Regions from separate parts of the Homo sapiens genome. Here all the other regions are linked to region 4. Evidence: promoter capture Hi-C in 16 types of primary human blood cells and fetal thymus (Javierre and others, 2016). All regions are on one chromosome and are shown on one strand. Each heading gives the region's core, a stretch centred on a gene start or on the middle of the fragment in contact. The rest is flanking DNA. Distances are from core to core; before and after follow the strand shown. Region 1 overlaps SPECC1L (sperm antigen with calponin homology and coiled-coil domains 1 like). Region 2 overlaps SPECC1L (sperm antigen with calponin homology and coiled-coil domains 1 like). Region 3 holds the start of GGT5 (gamma-glutamyltransferase 5). Region 4 holds the start of ADORA2A-AS1 (ADORA2A antisense RNA 1). Region 5 overlaps SPECC1L (sperm antigen with calponin homology and coiled-coil domains 1 like). Region 6 overlaps SPECC1L (sperm antigen with calponin homology and coiled-coil domains 1 like).

Region 1 (2,740 bases), core at 60-2,559, 190 kb before region 4:
CTTCTGAGTCTTGGATCTGGAGTTGCTGGGAATTTGGTCTTGAACAGTGAGTACTTTTCCACTGTAAAGCAAAACTGTACACTTACTCTTGCCAGCACATGCCAGCTGTCCATAGCTTTGGCTCTGCTGCATTAACAAGTTTAAATAGGGTGTGTGTGTGTGTGTGTGTGTGTGTGTGTGTGTGTGTGTGTAGCAGGAAGGTCAGGACAGAGGTAAAACTATTTGGCAACACTTTTCCTGGAGTGGAGCAATTGCCTTCACTTAAGAGAGGGGAAGGAAAAAGTCATTAAATGGAGATTAAAGTAAAAACAGAGAAGGAAAGAAGAAAATAGTGGGAAAAAAATGGAAAACATTGAAGGGCTTTGAGACCCCACAGTGTTATTTTATTTTTCTAACTTTTTTTTTTCCTGTGCTTCTCTGGCACCTAGATACTTCCTACAATTTGAATTCCTTTAACTGTCATGGAGCATTGATGATTAACCAGATGAATGAAGTGTTTGGCTTAATTATTGAGACAGCATGTGCACACACCCATTCATTTATGGACACCCACACCTGTGTGTCTGTCACTGCACAATATTCTCATGACTCTCTTCTTGTAGTGACAGGATACAGGATATGCATTTCTTCACCTCTCATTTCAAGTATTGTTTGAGGCTAGATGTAGTTGAGGGTTAAGGGGAAGGACTCTTTTGATCCAGGACACTTCACTGCTGGTTGGAGCTTTTGTAAATACAAAACACTACTGCTGCTCACAGTGAGTTTTGGAGACATTATTCCCACTTCTGTCAGGAGCTGTGTCATTGGGCTTGCAGCCTTTGTATGCTTAATTCTCCTTGGTCACAGTCAGTGGAGAGGATTATTTTCCATGTAGAGAGGGTTTCCTGCATGCCTACGCTTTGCAGGGTTCACTTACTGTTCAGGTGTTCATGATTAGTTCTTTTGAAGTAATATACTTTTCCATTATACTGATGATAATTTTTTCTAAAAATTACAGACATGAATTAATAAGCTTCAGTTAGAATCTATAATTGATATTTCTCCATGATTATTTGTGGTCATACAGTGTAAACATTTGTTAATTGTATGAACAATCCTCCTCGGAAACTTGAAAGGTAAAATTTGATAACAAATCTTCAAATTTGAGAGAAAGATGCATGTGAAACTTGGGCTTGACTTAGAGAAGTATACGTACCTGGTTGTAGTATTTCATTATTTGTGTCCGGAATGCTTGTACCAAATTATTTGCATTTTGCATCAGTTACAAAGAGTAGGCTGAACATTTATTCCTTCATCCATTTCATGTTTTTAGACTTACTGATGGGGGGTGTTTATGTGTGAGAATGCACATGCCTTTACAGAATTTTGTAGCAAAAATTAAAAGAAATAGGGAAAAATAGCAGAGAGCCTGCTAGTAGCTTAGGGTAAAAGGTAAGTTGGAAAATGCAGAGTTGTGTTTTGTTTTGTTTTGACTTTTTTTGTTGAAGTAAAGCATACGTACAGCAAAGTCCACAAAACACAGGTGTTGAGTTTAGTGAATCATCACAAAATGAAACATGTCCTTCAGTCACCACCTAGTTCAAGAAACAGAACATATGTGCCCCTCAGAAGCTTCCACCGTGCCTCTGCTTAATCATTGCCCTTCCTGTCCTCCCCCAAAGTAACTACCATTCTAACTTCTAGCACCAGAGATGATTTTTGCCAGTTTTTGATCTTTACAGGAACGTAGTCACACACTATGTTCTTTTTATGTGTGTCTGGTTTCTTATCTGTACTGTTGCATCTAGCAGCGGTCACTTCCTTTTCATTGTTGGTTAGTAATCCATGGGATGAATATACCACAGTTTGTTCATCTCTTCTGCTATTGGCAGACTTTTACTACTATTGGCAGACTTTTGGAGTTTCTTCTCTGTGGTTATGAGTATTATTGTTATGAACATTCTTATATGTGTGTATTAATACACATGTGCACCCATTTGTGTTGGTTCTAGAATGAGGAGTGAAATTACTGGACCGTAGAGTATACCTATGTTCAGCTTTAATGTTATAGATAGAAGAAAATCATTTCTCAAGGTGGTTACCAGTTTACACTCCTGGTTACTTCACATTTTCTCCTGTACTTAAATTGTTACTCCTTTCATGTTAAGCACTCACGGATGTATAAAGGAATGGAGCAGTGGCATTAATTTGCATCGTTACCAGTAAGATTGAATACCTTTTCATACAATCTTTTTTTTTTTTTTGAGATGGAGTTTCACTCTTGTTGCCCAGGCTGGAGTGCAATGGCGCCATCTCCGCCTCCCGGGTTCAAGCGATTCTCCTGCCTCAGCCTCCCGAGTAGCTGGGATTACAGGCATGTGCCACCACGCCTGGCTAATTTTTTGTATTTTTAGTAGAGACGGGGTTTCTCCATGTTGGTCAGGCTGGTCTTGAACTCCCGACCTCAGGTCATCCACCCACCTCGGCCTCCCAAAGTGCTGGAATTACAGGCATGAGCCACTGCACCCGGCCTTATACATTCTTTTTATGTGCTCAGTGGACATTTAGACCCTCTTCTATGAAGTGCCTGTTCAAGTCACTTGCCCATTTTTCCGTTGTCTTTTTTTTTTCCAAACTTTTTTTTTTATTGTGGAAAAATACATACAACATTCATCACTTTGGCCTTTTAATTTTTAATTTTAATTTTTTAATTTTTTTAAGAGATGGAGTCTTACTCTGTTGCCTGCCCAGGCTGGAGTAC
Region 2 (2,700 bases), core at 165-2,664, 210 kb before region 4:
ACCTAGAATATAGTTTCGAAGGCTTAGATTTAAGACTTCCATCTGATAAAGTGGGGGTAAGCTGCAGTGAAATCTGCATGGTAGTCTATTCTTGACACTTGCTGTTAGTAGTAACCTTTTACTGAAAGTCAAAGTTTGCTTATGTCTTACAGTACTGTTCTGAAAGTTTACTTTTTAAAAATGAGAATGAAATATTGGGAAGAAACATCATAGTTATTTTACATATTCTGTTTTTTTAGTACCTGATTGGTTATGTTATATTGACATTCTCGCATGTAATTACACTTTATTGCTTGAACTTGCAATACATTGCTCCTGAGATAAAGACATAGGTGAAGCTTATCCTAAGTTGGTAACAGCAAAATTATTGTATTAATAATTGAGTCATATGGTGTGTTTCGGCATTTTAACAAGGAAGTATGGACCATGACATTTTGAATTTGAAAGGAAGTACTTTTTACTGCTTTCCTCTTTTTCTGTCTTATATCTTTGTCCTACCACTAAGAAGTGAGTAAAGTTCTAGACTCAGTTATAGGATATCTTAATAACAGGCCGTGAACTGTGTCACTGATTAACTGACCTATCTAGTAAGAGTTAGGATTTACTTCTGACATTCATGTACTTTTTGCAGTAATTCAGGCTATTCACATCATAGCTTTGCTTTTGTCTGTTTTTCAAGTAAGAGGCTGAGGCAGAAGAATCATTTGAACCCTGCAGGCAGAGGTTACAGTGAGCTGAGATCGCGCCACTGCACTCCAGCCTGGGCTACAAAGCGAGACCCTGTCTCCAAAAAAATGAAAATTAAAAATAAGTAAATGTGAATTTCAGATAAATAGTGATGACTTTTTTGGTCTAAGTATACCCTAAATGTTGTCTGGATAAAAGACACTTAGGTGAGTGCTGTGGCCAGAAAGGTAAGAGGGATGGGGGGCCAACCAACTAGAGACAAGGGAAGGTATCACTAAGGACACGGCAGTGGAGCTGAGTCCTGAAGTGATGCACGAGCAGTTATTTCTCAGGGAGGAAAGTGGTAAGGGGTTTTCAGGGGTAGGAACAGTAGGAGCCAAAGTGTGGGTATGTGAGAGTGTGTGACTATGTGTGCACGTAAAATGGAAATGAGATGGAGGGATGGGTTGGAGCCTGGATTTGAAGAAGCAGGTATCGGCGCTGGGGTATTTGGCCTGGGACAGTGAGGCATTATTTTACAGGAGAGTGGCCTGGTGGGATGTGTGCTTTAGAGTGTGGACACACAGCTGTGGCACAGAAGGATTGCTGGCAGGGGAGGGCGACAGGAGGCTGCCAGAGTTGTCCAGCTGGACTTCTTCCCTGACACAGACAGGCTGGCATAGGATTGGTGTGGTAGTGGGGATGGGAAGGAGGGAATGCCGCGAGGTCAGGAACTTCTTCCAGTCGCCAAGAGGCGTCTTGACCGTTTAAAAATGTCTCTGAAGATTTAGCACACCAAGGCCCCCTATAGTCCCAGGGTATAGGCCACCCTTGAGATTAGAAAGAAACCCCTGGGAGCTGTGGTGGGGTGGATGTGGCTGTTGGAGGTGCCCCTATTCAGACTCCTGCTCTACCATTTGCTTCGGGATCACCTTTTACAGTGGATCTGATATTATAATACCCACTTCTTATGATGTAAAGGAACTGAATGAGTGTGGAATCCCTAGGACCCCGCTGGAATATAATGGGCCCTCGGGGTTTAGTTTCTTTCCTTCTTGCCGGTGAGGTTTGAGAGGGACTGGAGAACAGTGGATTTCGACCATCCATTTGGGGTTGTCAGTCTGTGCCAGGCCAGCTGGAAACTACAAAAAGGAGGTACAGGTAAGCAATAAGGCCCTGTGGTTCATCTCAGATTTCATTCCGGGAGATCAGAGAGAGCCCTTCCTGGAACTGTATCCTTTCCTGGGGAATATGGGTGGAAATCCAAGGGCCCTGTGCATAGATTTTCCCTTCTCTTTCAGCTCTGCCAGCTGCCAGAACTGTGGCTTTCTCAGCAGATTGTCTGTACACATGAGACCTTTTTTACGGAACGATTTACAGAAAGACAAACCCTTCCTTCCAAGTTTAACCAGTCCCCTTATACCAAGGTTTCCCAGCCTTGACTGTATTGATATTTTAGGCTGTATAATTCTTTGTCGTGGGGGGCTGTCCAGTGTGTTGTAGGGAGTTTACTAGGATTCCTGGCCTCTTACACACTCACTGTCTGTAGCACCTTGCCTCCCACCCAGTTGTGACAACGAAAAATGTGTACAGGAAGTGCCAAATATCCCCTAGGGTACAAAATTGTCCCCTACCCCTCATTAAGTACCACTGCTTTATACTCACTAGACACAGGGAAAAAGAACTTCTTAGCATTTTTTATTAATTTCTTTTTAACCTAACCAGTGAAATGCTTGTTGAAAAAAAGACTTAGTTTTTACTACACTGAATTTGAATTCTATTTTAACTTATTTAGTTTAGAAAGACTTCTCAAATCCAAAATTTTAAGCTTTTTTTTTTTTTTTTTTTTTTTTTTTTTGGACATATCCTTGCTCTGTTGCCCAGGCTGGAGTGCAATGGCGTGATCTTGGCTCACTGCAACTTCTGCCTCCTGGGTTCAAGCGATTCTCCTGCCTCAGCTTCCTCAGTAGCTGGAATTACAGGTGTCTGCCACCACACTTGGCTAATTTTTGTACTTTTAGTAGAGACGGGTTT
Region 3 (2,732 bases), core at 217-2,716, 250 kb before region 4:
GAGGGGAGGCTTGCCCTGGCTTTTGTGGGCCCAGTGGGAGGCAGGGAGCAGGAAGGGGCATCCTGTATGTGTCCTCTGCAGCAGCAGCAGCGGAGGCCTCCCTTGGGCTGGGCTTCCTGGAAGAGGGTCAGGAAACACCCGCTGTGGCCCCTCTCCACCACGCCCTCATCCAGGACACCAAGTATCAGTCACTCAGCTCACGAGACCCAGGCCCTGACTCAGGGAGAGAGGATGTGAGGGGTGGGGCACCGGGCTCCTCAGGACTGAGAGACCCGAGATGTGGCCCCAGGCTGGGTGTTGGGGCAGACTGGCTATGGCAGCATTGTGTGTACCCCAGCAGGCCAGTACCCACGCAGGGAGCCTCCAAACCCCTTCACCCATGACCCTGGGAGAAGACCGCAGCCTTGGAGAATTGGCCTCACTGAAGGGGCCTGCACCGGCCAGCAGGGTCAGGCGGGGCCAGACAGGTTCCCACCTGGGATATGCAAATGGGCCTCCTGAATCCTGGAGCCAGGCGTGGACTCACACACCACCATTGTCCCCAAGTCCCCATCTGCCCCACGAGCACACCCTGCCACCTGTTCTGTGCAAGGGCCCTGAGGCTGCCTCCTTGCGCCCAAGACCTGCAGGTGCTGAAGCCCACACACACACGGCTCCTGCTTCCTGGGCCAGTGCACGTGCACACACACACACACACACACCCACCCACACATACACATACCCACACACAATCACACACATTCACACACACCCACACTCCCCACACTCACACTCACATACACTCACACACACCCACACATGCATGCAATCACACATACCCAGACACTCACACACACACCCACACATACATTCACTCACACACACACACACACACACGCCTTCTCCAGGAGGGGCTGGCTGCCAAGGGCCACCCAGCTTCCTCCCACGTCTCACTCACCGTCCAATATCCGAGCAGACCTTGGAGTCGGCGGCAACAGCAGCGTGGGCAAAGGCCTGGGGGCCACATGGGGCCTGGTGTCGAGAGAGGACCACAGCCAGCACAATGACAGCCAGCGCCAGCCCCAGACCCAGCAGGACTAGGCTGACCGTGGCCCCGTAGCCCCGGGCCATGGCTCTGCAGCCCAGGAGGAGAGGGGCGGCTGGTGGGCAGACGGAGGGACGGATGGGTGGGCAGATGAATGGACAAGAAGATGCACAGAGTCACAGGTAATTGGACAGATGGACAAACAGGTGGGGGCTGAAGACAGACACGAAGATGGATCGACAGATAGGCCAGATAGCTAGACAAAGAGGACAGTAAGAGAAAGATGGTCAGATAGACAATGGGACAGAGATGGGCTTACAGATGGGCGGACAGACAGACAGGTCTGAACAGCGGGCTGCCAGATGGACAGATGGGTGAATGGACAGATGGCTGGCAGCTGTGGCGAGCTGCTGCCCTCACCAAGTGCACACTACGGAGTGGCCAAACTCACGCCTCAACTTCTGGTTTTCAGCTCCTGCTTGTTGCTGGCAGGAGGCCAGGCAGCAAAGCGTCTGAGGGGAGTTTTCCTTGCCTAGAGGAGTCAGCTGCTGTGTTAACTCCCTCACTGCTAGTAGGTCCAAAGGCCCCACCTACCGCCCGCCAGAGCCCAGGGTCACACTGTCGCAATGTGCAGGAGAACTTGGTGCCTGCTGCACTGCGGTTGCCAGGTAGGGGCAGGGCTCCCTGGAACCTCCACACCATTCCCCGGGTTCCCGGCAGCTCTGGGAAAGCAGAGCTGGGGCCGCTCAACTCTCTCCCCTGGATCCGGCAAGGCTGCCCCCCTCCCAGAGTGGAGCCCTGCTCCCCAGCTCCCATCTCTATCCCCTAACCCTCTCCTCATGGCCCAGCCTAGTCAGCATCAAGGTGGAGCTGAACAGAGGCAGAGGGAGGGGGACACAAGGTGGTGTCACTTAAAACTTGGGTTCAAGTCCTTATGCTTCTGCAGCCTGGCCTGGGTCCCACAACTCCCCAGGGTGGCCAAGGGCTTCCCAGTCTGCACAGAGGACAGGGGGACTTGACAGCATCAAATGCTGGTGACTACAAGACGCCCATGTGGGGAATGCAGACAGACCATGCCTCTAGCCCTTGGCATCCGGGACCATTTGTCCAGGACTTGCTGTCCTGGAAATGCAGCATGGACCTCCAGGGAGGGAGGCTGTGTGGAGGCCACGCCCTGCCTGTAGCTCTTTCCCACCCTAGCTGCGGGTCTGCTTCCCTGAATCCAAATCCGCTATTACTGTGCTGGCAGCGCAGCCTCTCTAGGGACACTGGCCTGGCTCTGTTCTCCCCAGGCCTCAGGGTGCCTAAATGGGAGGCAGCCAGGAGAGTGAGGACCCACTGAGGGGCTCTGTTGACCAGGCTCAGCAGGGGTGCAGGTGATGTGGGCTGGACTTCTTCCCACGTGGCCCCCACAGTCCTCCCCGCTTCCTCCCCAGCTGAACACTGCCTGCTCCAGATGTCTACACCTGGAAGCCGGGCCCCCCCATCTGGGCAGCAGAGAAACTGAGGCACAGAGACAGACTGTGTCCTTACAGGCCACACAGCCTGCCAGGCCCCTATGTCCAGCCAGAGCCCCTGGTCAGCCTGGACTGGAATGATTGTTTAGAGGCAGGCTGTTCCCACGGCTGCCTCTCGCGGTGGGGGGCCTGTGGATGCCTCCTCCCGCCCCCACCCGACTCCCAAGCCTCAGTGACATTGCTCAACCAGG
Region 4 (2,700 bases), core at 70-2,569:
TACTTGCCTCTTTTTTTTTTTTCTTTGAGATTGCGTCTCACTCTGTTGCCCAGGCTGAAGTGCAGTGTTAAGATCATAGCTAGGGAGCCTCGAACTCCTGGGCTCAAGCGATCCTCTCACCTCTGCCTCCCAAGAAGCAGGTGCGCACCACCATGATAGGCTAATTTGTAAAACATTATTTTGTAGATACAGGGTCTTGCTGTGTTACCCAGGCTGGTCTGGAGTTCCTGGCCTCAAACAATACCCCTTTCTAGGCCTCCCAAAGTGCTGGGTTTACAGGCATGAGCCACCGTGCTGGCCTTTTCTGACTTTTAAACAACCCCGCAGCGTAATCTTTGCATTCCTATTTTACAGATAAAGCAACAGAAGCCTCCAGCGACTAAGTTAAACTTTCCTGGGGTCACAAGGTTTACAAGTGGCTGAATAGGATTTCTACAGACTGGTTCCTTCACCCGGCTGCCCGCCGAAGTAAGCGGGCCTTACTGCCCTAATTCTCAATAGGACCCCAAAGAGGACGCTTCTTTGCTCCTGAAGGGATGGCACCCTCTGGATTCGCGGTAACAGCAAATGGGGCTCTCACTCCTACCATCTCAGTGACAGTTTAAAGCGCACCCTACCGCAGGAAAGTGCCCATATTTGCACACACGCGGCAGAGGGCAGGGCTGAAAAGGGGCCCTAGGGTGCAGGGGGCGCGCCCTCACCCGGGGACCCCGCATTTTACAATATTAGCTCCACCGAGGCGCACGGAACCGCAGGCGAGCAACTGACCTTCGGCTCCAGCGGCCCCAAAGCCGGGGGTGGGAACGCGCGACCCAGGTAGCGGCATGGACTCCGAGCCTGGCCCCTCGGGGGTTAAAACTCCCCAGACATAAAGGCTCCGGACGACAGAGGTGCAGCCGCCGCGTGCCCGTGGGACACTGAAACTCTTCCCTTACCTTCCTCGGTAGTCCTGTGAGGGAGGCTGGCCCGGCCGGCTGCCCTACGGTGCGGACAGGAGGTCGCGGTCGGGAGGGGCCCTGCCCGGCGGTTGCTGCTGGAACCAGCCCCCGCAAGGGCCCGCAGCGGCCGGGCCGTTTACCTCAGACCCGCGCCGCAGCCTCCCGGAGCCCGCGCCCAGGACTCCCTCACGACCTCTCCAGGGTCCCGGCCCGACACCAAGGGGCAGGTGAGGGGTGGAACCTGGAGGCACCCGCGCCAGGGCCCCTGAGGGAGGCGGGAGGGGGACAGCCTCAGTCCTGACTCGCAGCCGAGGCGCGACGACTCCGCGCAGTCCCGCCTGTGGAGGGGCGTGCCTCATCGCTTGCTAACCGAGAGGCGAAGGGCAAGGGGCGAAGGGCAAGCGCCGGATCCTTTCGCCCCCTCCCCACGTGAGGCCCTGGAGGCTGATTGGCCGTGTGCTGCGGAGGCGGCAAGAGGAACGTGTCCTGGCACGTGCCGAAGGAGCGCTAAAGGCCAGGGGCGGTCCCACCCGCGAAGCCCTGGAAGGCGGATTGGCTGCGCGAGGAAGTGGCGTGTCCTCACTTGAGCTGTCTGGGAGCGAGAGTAAGAGATAAAGGCAAGGGCGCCTGACCGGGCCTGGGCACCTCCTCCCACTGCGGGCAAAGGGCAGGCAGTTCGTGCGCGGACACAAGCACTGGCGGACCGTGGCCATGGCGGGCGCTGAGTGGAAGTCGCTGGAGGAATGCTTGGAGAAGCACCTGCCGCTCCCCGACTTGCAGGAAGTGAAGCGCGTTCTCTATGGCAAGGAACTCAGGTCCGCAGCCAAGAGGCTAAGCTAATGGGGTCTTGGGGCCACAGAGTGTGGGTCTGGGGGAGCAGGCAGGGAGGGCCTCAGGGTCTGAAGGGCTCAGGGGAGGCGGTGAGAAGTCCTGAGTTGGCGGGCAGAGACCATAGTAGGTCTTGATGGGACGGCCCCGGGGTCCTTGGGGGTTGCAGAATCCTGGCGTGACCTTTACAAATCTCTTCTCCCCCACGTTGCCCAGAACCGGAAGGAAAAGGACGGGATTTTACTCTCCAGGGCTTTCTCTGTGGCCATCCCAACCCTCCTCCCCGGAGCCGGGCTTGTCTTCTGGATGTCTGGCTGGATCACTGTCTCCAACCAGAGCACCCAGCAGGTGTACTGATTGTCCGGCCCCAGACCATCCTTCTTGCGGTGACCCGACCTCTGGCTGACCCTTGGAAATAGAGGCTGTCTGCATTTAGTTGGCGAGGGAACCTTTCCCACTGGCAAGCCATGGGCGCTGGTTTTTCCACTCCCTGCAAGCTTGTGCATCACCAGGACTTTCTGAGGGCTGTATACTGCTGGACACTGTGTCCACAAAGCTGAAAAAGACACTTCCTGGCCGGGCTCACACCTGTAATCTCAGCACTTTGGGAGGCCAGGGCTGGAAGATTGCTTGAACTCAGGAGTTCGAGACCGGCCTGGGCAACATAGTGAGACACCCATCTCTATAAAGCATTTAAAAAAATAGCCAAGCATGGTAGCATGCATCTGTAGTCCTAGCTACATGGCAGGCTGAGGCGGGAGGATCACTTGAGCTTGGGAGGTCGAGGCTGCAGTGAGCCAAAATCTCTCCTCTGCACTCCAGCCTGGGAGTCAGAGTGAGGCCCTGTCTCAAACACACACACACACACACACACACACACACATACACACACACACACACACACACGTCTTTGGATTTGGAGCTTACTTGGATA
Region 5 (2,700 bases), core at 136-2,635, 140 kb before region 4:
GTGGCTCATGCCTGTAATCCCAGCACTTTGGGAGGCCGAGGTGGGCGGATCAGGAGGTCAAGAGATCCAGACCATCCTGGCAAACATGGTGAAACCCTGTCTCTACTAAAAATACAAAAATTAATTAGCTGAGCGTGGTGGTGTGCACCTGTAGTCCCAGGTACTCAGGAGGCTGAGGCATGAGAATTACTTGAACCTGGGAGGCAGAGGTTGCAATGAGCCAGGATCGTGCCACTGCACTCCAGCTTGGCAACAGAGTGAGACTCCATCTCAAAAAAAAAAAAAAAAAAAAAAGGAAACCAAGATCCAGGTGCTAAATGTGCTCATTGCTACTGGGGTTTCACAGCCTTTAGTCCCTCTCTGGATAGAACTAGGGAAATTGTATGTATATGTACCAACTCATGTGTATACACTATCCTGTCTGTCTGTCTGTCTACCTACCTATCCACCCACCCACCTACCTACCTACCTACCTATCTAACTATCTTATTTGTCTGTCTGTCTGCCTGTCTATCAAAAACTGTAAGTTTATACTCATACCTGACTCCAAGCCATCACCAATGGGTTCATTCCAGAATTTTCCCTTCCCTTACTTATAACTTCTTTCTTTTGGGGGTGAGAAACTTGGCTCTCATTATCTACAATATATTTATGTATTTGTTCAACCTTACTATACATATACAAAGTTACTTAAGCCAGTTCCTTTTTCCCTACTCACTTCAGTTGGTCTGTCATGGTTTCGTAATGCAGTCAGATTAATTTGTCATAGTCTGCATTCTGTTCTCCTCCCCTTCTCTCCCTCCCTCCCCCCGTTCTGTTTTTTTTTTAATTTACATACAGTAAAATTTACACTATCTGGTATACAGTTTTGTGGGTTTTGACAAACACATAGCCATTTGTCTGTCATCATAGTTACACAGTTCTGTACACAAGAGTTCCATCACCCCCAAAATTCCTTCATGCTGCCCCTTTGTAGTCAACCCCTACCATACACCCCATTCCCTAGCAACCACTGATATGTTTTTCATCCCTACAGTTGTACCTTTTCTAGACTGTCATATAAATCAAATCATACAGCATACAGCTTTTTTTTTAAGTCTGGCTTCTCTCACTTGGCAGCATGTTTTTATTTTGCTGTTATTGGGCAGAGTGTTTTATAAATATCAGTTAGATCTAGTTGGTTGTATTGTTCAAGTCTGGGTCTTCTGTATTTACTCATTTCTGTCTGCTCGTTTCTAGGAATTACTGAGAGAATAGTCTTGAACTCTGAAAGTCTAGTTGTGGATTTCTATTTCTCCTTTTAGTTCTATCAGGTTTTACCTCATGTATCTTAAAGTTCTGTTGGTAGATGCATACCCATTTGGGAATGTGTTATGTCTTCTTAGAGAACTAGCCCCTTTATTATTATTATTATATTTTTTAAATCTCTGATAATGTCCCTTGTTCTGAAGTCTTTCTTTTCTGATATTGATGTACCTACTCCAACCTTCTGTTAGTGCTTGCATGGTATATTTTTTTCCATCCTTTTAATTTATCTATGTCTTTAGATTTAAAGTAAGTTTCTTGTAGACGGTATATAGTTCAGTCTTTTTTATTCATTCTGACATTTTGTCTTTTAATTGGTGGATTTAGACCATTCTCGTTTAATATGATTATTATTATGGTTAGATTAAAATCTACCACCTTGTCGTGTTTTGTATTTGACCCATCTATTCTGCTTCTTTTTCCTTTTTCTGCCTTCTCTTGGGTCCATTGACCATTTGTTATTACTTTGTTTTATCTCTCCTACTGACTTATTATTTGTATCCATTAAATTCTTTCAGTGGTTGCCTTAGGTTAGGGTTTGTCAGCCTTGCCTTTATTGGCGTCCACATAACTGTTGTGGGGGATTGTTTTATGCATTACAGGAAGTTTAGCAGTATCCCTGCTCTCTACCCACCAGAGTCCCAGTATCACCCCCATCTCCCCAGTTATGACAACCAAAAAATGCCTCTAATTTTTGGTTGTCACAACTGGGGGAATGGGGGTGATACTCTAATAATCCCCTGGGGGGGCAAATTTGCCCACAGTTGAAAATCAGAGATACAGTTTTCACAGTTTTATTTGTCTAATTTCAGCAGAGAGATGGAAGCTATAAGAGAAAATCAAGTAGGAAATCCTAGCCAATCTTGCATATTGTCTGCCTTTTCCCTTAGAGACCTTGTTTCACTTAATATCATGTTTTCAAGGTTCATCCATTTTGTGGCATGAAACAATTTCTTTTTAAGGCTGAGGCTGGAAACTGGCTCACACCTGTAATCCCAGCACTCAGGGAGGCCAAGGCAAGAAGATTGCTTGAGCCAAGAAGTTAAGACTAGCCTGAGCAACATAGTGAGACTTCATCTCTATAAAAATATAAAATGATATATTAATCATAGTTATTTTAAATGCTTTATAGATAGTTCCAACATCCGTACCATTTGGTTTTATTGATTACTTTGTGTTCTGGTGTAGTGAGCTGGGTATGTTGGCTTTTTCTTGGCTTTTTGTATATTTTACAATTCTTTATTGAAAGCTAGACATCTTACATGGATAGTAGTTGATTTTATGCCTTGAAATGGACACCTTTTTTCTTCTACTTAGGTCTTTAAATGTGGGAGTTTGAGTTAATCTGCTCAGGAGCTGGGCTGGGTTTGAGGTTTATTGTTGCTGTGATTACCC
Region 6 (2,700 bases), core at 61-2,560, 160 kb before region 4:
TGTTCTGAATACTTTATAATGTTAACTCATTTAATCCTTACAACTCTTGGGTATTAGGTACTGTTCTTATCTGTATTTTTCACATGTGGTTACTGAGGCCCAGAAAGGTTAAGTAACTTGCCGAGGTTCATGCAATTAAGTGGTAGAGTAGGGGTTCAGAGTTAGGCTGTCTGGATTCAGTGACTTTAGTCACTACACTAAGACACAAAGGTGTCTCTTGAGTAGAATATGTGGTTGCCATGTCTCAGCCTTTACTGCATAGCAAATCACTTCAGAACTTAGTGGCTTGAAAGAACAGTTTTGTTAGTTTTCACATTTCTCTGAGTTGACTAGGCAATTCTTTGCTGGCTTTCCTGGGCTCATTCCTGCAGTTGAATTCACAGAGAAGGTGGGATGGGGCCTGGGCTCAGCAGGATTCCTGGGCTGCTTTCTTCATGTGATTTGTCTTCTCAGGCTCCTTCACAGCATGGTTATCTCCAGCTCCAAGAGACTGAAAATGAAAGTTAGCAAAGCCTCTGAAGACCTAAGCTTGGAACTTGGACAGTGACACTTCTGTCCTGCTATTTTAATCCAAGCAAGTCACAGGGCAGCTGCGATTCAGAGTGGAAGGGGTGCACAAGGCATGAATTCAGAGAAGCATGATTCATGAGGGCTGTTTTGTAACAGGTCCGGCACAGGTCATTATTGATACATTAGAAACAAGTTTTAAAAGTTGCTCCTCCGTGCCATTGTGGAATGCAGATGAGAAGCGGGGCAGAGGGCTATTCAGTAGTGCTCAAGAGGCCGCTCATTGTGCATTTTATTCAGCCGCTTTTGGACAGTATAGTTGAGGCGGAGTATTTCCACATAGGTGAGAGTAGCCAAAGGAAACATTGCCTAAACCCCATTATCCTGTGATAAAGGGTAGCCCTGGCTGCACCTCTTCCCTAAAATAATGGTGTTGGGGAGCATTTTCGAGTTGAGACATTTGTGCTGTGTTTACTAGTGTGCTCCCTCCGCATTTATATTGTGAGTTCGTGGCTTTGCATTTGCATGTATATACAAGATGTTATGTCCTTTTTTTTTTACCCCGAAACGGGGTCTCCCTCTGTCACCCAGATTGGAGTGTAGTTGCATGATCTCGGCTCACTGCACAACCTCTGCCTCCCAGGCCCAACCAGTCCTCCCACCTCAGCCTCCCAAGTAGCTGGGACCACAGGCGTGCACCACCATGCCTGGCTGTTTTCTGTGTTTTTGGTAAAGACAGGGTTCTGCCACGTTGCCCAGGCTGGTCTTGAGCTCCTGAGCTCAGGTAATCCACCTGCCTGGTCCTCCCAAAGTGCTGGGATTACAGACATGAGCTACCACGCCTGACATTATGTCGTAATTTAAAAAGAAGGGAAGGGAATACTGTTCCACCAATTTAATGACCTTTTTTTTTTTTTTTTTTTTTTTTTTGAGACGGAGTCTCACTCTGTTGCCCAGGCTGGAATGAAATGGCATGATTTCGGCTCACTGCAACCTCCACCTCCTGGGTTCAAGTGATTCTCATGCCTCAGCCTCCAAGTAGCCAGGATTACAGGTGTGCACCACCACACCCAGCTAATTTTTGTATTTTTAGTAGAGACGGTTTTAACCACGTTGGCCAAGCTGGTCTCAAATTCCTGACCTCAAGCAATCTGCCCTCTTCAGCCTTCCAAAGTGCTGGGATTACAGGCGTGAGCCACTGTGCGCAGCTGATTTAATGCTTTTTTTATGTGCTCTCTATTAATCAAACTTCATCTAAAATTCTGAAAATATAGATAAAAGCAAAATAAAGATGCCAAATGTAATAAACTTCAAATAAGATGAACTTTAAGTGGTGTTTATCAGTTGACGTTTAATGTATGAGGCATCACTTTGTAAATCTTTGTAAAGATAGGAGGTGAAAAATATTTCTACAAGTTGCAAAAAACTAATACTTATGAGCTACATTCAGTAGCTTTTTAGTACATGATTAGTTAGTACAGTGCGTCTCAAACCTAATCGTATATAAAAATCATGTGGAGAGTTTTTAAACAGGTAAAATTCCCAGACCTCATCCTGGTAAACCATAATCTCTGGGGACTGGGGCCTAAGCTTGGGATTGTTAGTTTTTCAAAACTCCCTGGGTAGGAATTCTACTTCTAGCTATGTGGGAGTAACAGGCTGGATTATTCTGCCATCACAAACAACGATTAATAGAAAGATGGACAAAATATAAGAAACAATTATTTTCAGACATTGTACGTAACTGTGATCCCTGAACAAAAATTTTAAAATGAGGTAAGTCCTACTGTGGCCCACAGTCTTTTCCTGGAGGCAATTTCCAGGTGGTGGTGCAGGGAAGATGAACCTACATGGAGCAGGGAAGAGAAAACCAATTGGATCTGAGTAGACACAAATCAACATTCAAGGAGAAGGCGACTGCTCGAATTTGCAGGGCAGATACTGGGAGGAGGGAGCTGCATAGAGAAAGGAGTATAGAAATCTGCGTAGGCATCCCTTTGAGTCTTTTCCTGAATACCAACCTGCACCTGCATTGGGTGAAACCCCACAAGGATAATTTTCCAGGAACAGCCCCGCAAGAATAATTTTCCAGGAACAATTTCCAGGAACAGGGAGCTATCACACAAACACTTCTGGTAGCTCACCTAGGGCAGGAAATCATTTGAGTTCCCACCAGCCGCTGTGGAGACACCT

What was found. The method cuts DNA at HindIII sites, captures the fragments that hold promoters and counts their contacts. A CHiCAGO score of 5 or more calls a contact.
Region 1: a contact is called between a fragment that was not itself captured here and the fragment with the promoter of ADORA2A-AS1 in region 4, in 13 of 17 cell types (endothelial precursors, M1 macrophages, total B cells and 10 more). The highest score is 9.7, in endothelial precursors.
Region 2: a contact is called between a fragment that was not itself captured here and the fragment with the promoter of ADORA2A-AS1 in region 4, in 4 of 17 cell types (endothelial precursors, M0 macrophages, M1 macrophages and 1 more). The highest score is 6.2, in endothelial precursors.
Region 3: a contact is called between the fragment with the promoter of GGT5 here and the fragment with the promoter of ADORA2A-AS1 in region 4, in 4 of 17 cell types (naive B cells, monocytes, total CD4 T cells and 1 more). The highest score is 6.1, in naive B cells.
Region 5: a fragment that was not itself captured here is called in contact with the fragment with the promoter of ADORA2A-AS1 in region 4 in 4 of 17 cell types (endothelial precursors, monocytes, naive CD8 T cells and 1 more); the score reaches 5.7 in endothelial precursors.
Region 6: a fragment that was not itself captured here is called in contact with the fragment with the promoter of ADORA2A-AS1 in region 4 in 11 of 17 cell types (endothelial precursors, naive B cells, megakaryocytes and 8 more); the score reaches 8.3 in endothelial precursors.

Annotation. Positions count from the first base shown.
Region 1 is chr22:24,303,696-24,306,435 of GRCh38, forward strand. The region is part of intron 3 of SPECC1L (sperm antigen with calponin homology and coiled-coil domains 1 like); the gene reads left to right. All of the region lies in intron 3 of SPECC1L-ADORA2A (SPECC1L-ADORA2A readthrough (NMD candidate)), which reads left to right. Among named protein-coding and RNA genes, the nearest start is that of SPECC1L, 34 kb to the left of the region's middle. RefSeq lists a silencer at 1-220. The HindIII fragment of the contact is 599 bases long and covers 1,011-1,609 here.
Region 2 is chr22:24,286,121-24,288,820 of GRCh38, forward strand. All of the region lies in intron 2 of SPECC1L (sperm antigen with calponin homology and coiled-coil domains 1 like), which reads left to right. All of the region lies in intron 2 of SPECC1L-ADORA2A (SPECC1L-ADORA2A readthrough (NMD candidate)), which reads left to right. Among named protein-coding and RNA genes, the nearest start is that of SPECC1L, 17 kb to the left of the region's middle. The HindIII fragment of the contact is 2,156 bases long and covers 337-2,492 here.
Region 3 is chr22:24,243,616-24,246,347 of GRCh38, forward strand. It overlaps GGT5 (gamma-glutamyltransferase 5), which reads right to left and starts at 1,467. Exons shown (of 12, transcript NM_004121.5): 1 at 938-1,467. The coding sequence starts at 1,110. RefSeq lists enhancers at 248-803, 804-1,359, 2,472-2,732. The HindIII fragment of the contact is 5,279 bases long and covers 1-2,732 here.
Region 4 is chr22:24,493,755-24,496,454 of GRCh38, forward strand. ADORA2A-AS1 (ADORA2A antisense RNA 1) reads right to left here and starts at 1,320. Exons shown (of 7, transcript NR_028484.3): 1 at 936-1,320. UPB1 (beta-ureidopropionase 1) reads left to right here and starts at 1,578. Exons shown (of 10, transcript NM_016327.3): 1 at 1,578-1,753. The coding sequence starts at 1,650. The HindIII fragment of the contact is 15,084 bases long and covers 1-2,261 here.
Region 5 is chr22:24,355,010-24,357,709 of GRCh38, forward strand. All of the region lies in intron 11 of SPECC1L (sperm antigen with calponin homology and coiled-coil domains 1 like), which reads left to right. All of the region lies in intron 12 of SPECC1L-ADORA2A (SPECC1L-ADORA2A readthrough (NMD candidate)), which reads left to right. Among named protein-coding and RNA genes, the nearest start is that of ADORA2A, 71 kb to the right of the region's middle. The HindIII fragment of the contact is 4,757 bases long and covers 1-2,700 here.
Region 6 is chr22:24,338,730-24,341,429 of GRCh38, forward strand. The region is part of intron 10 of SPECC1L (sperm antigen with calponin homology and coiled-coil domains 1 like); the gene reads left to right. The region is part of intron 10 of SPECC1L-ADORA2A (SPECC1L-ADORA2A readthrough (NMD candidate)); the gene reads left to right. Among named protein-coding and RNA genes, the nearest start is that of SPECC1L, 69 kb to the left of the region's middle. RefSeq lists an enhancer at 244-939. The HindIII fragment of the contact is 1,569 bases long and covers 527-2,095 here.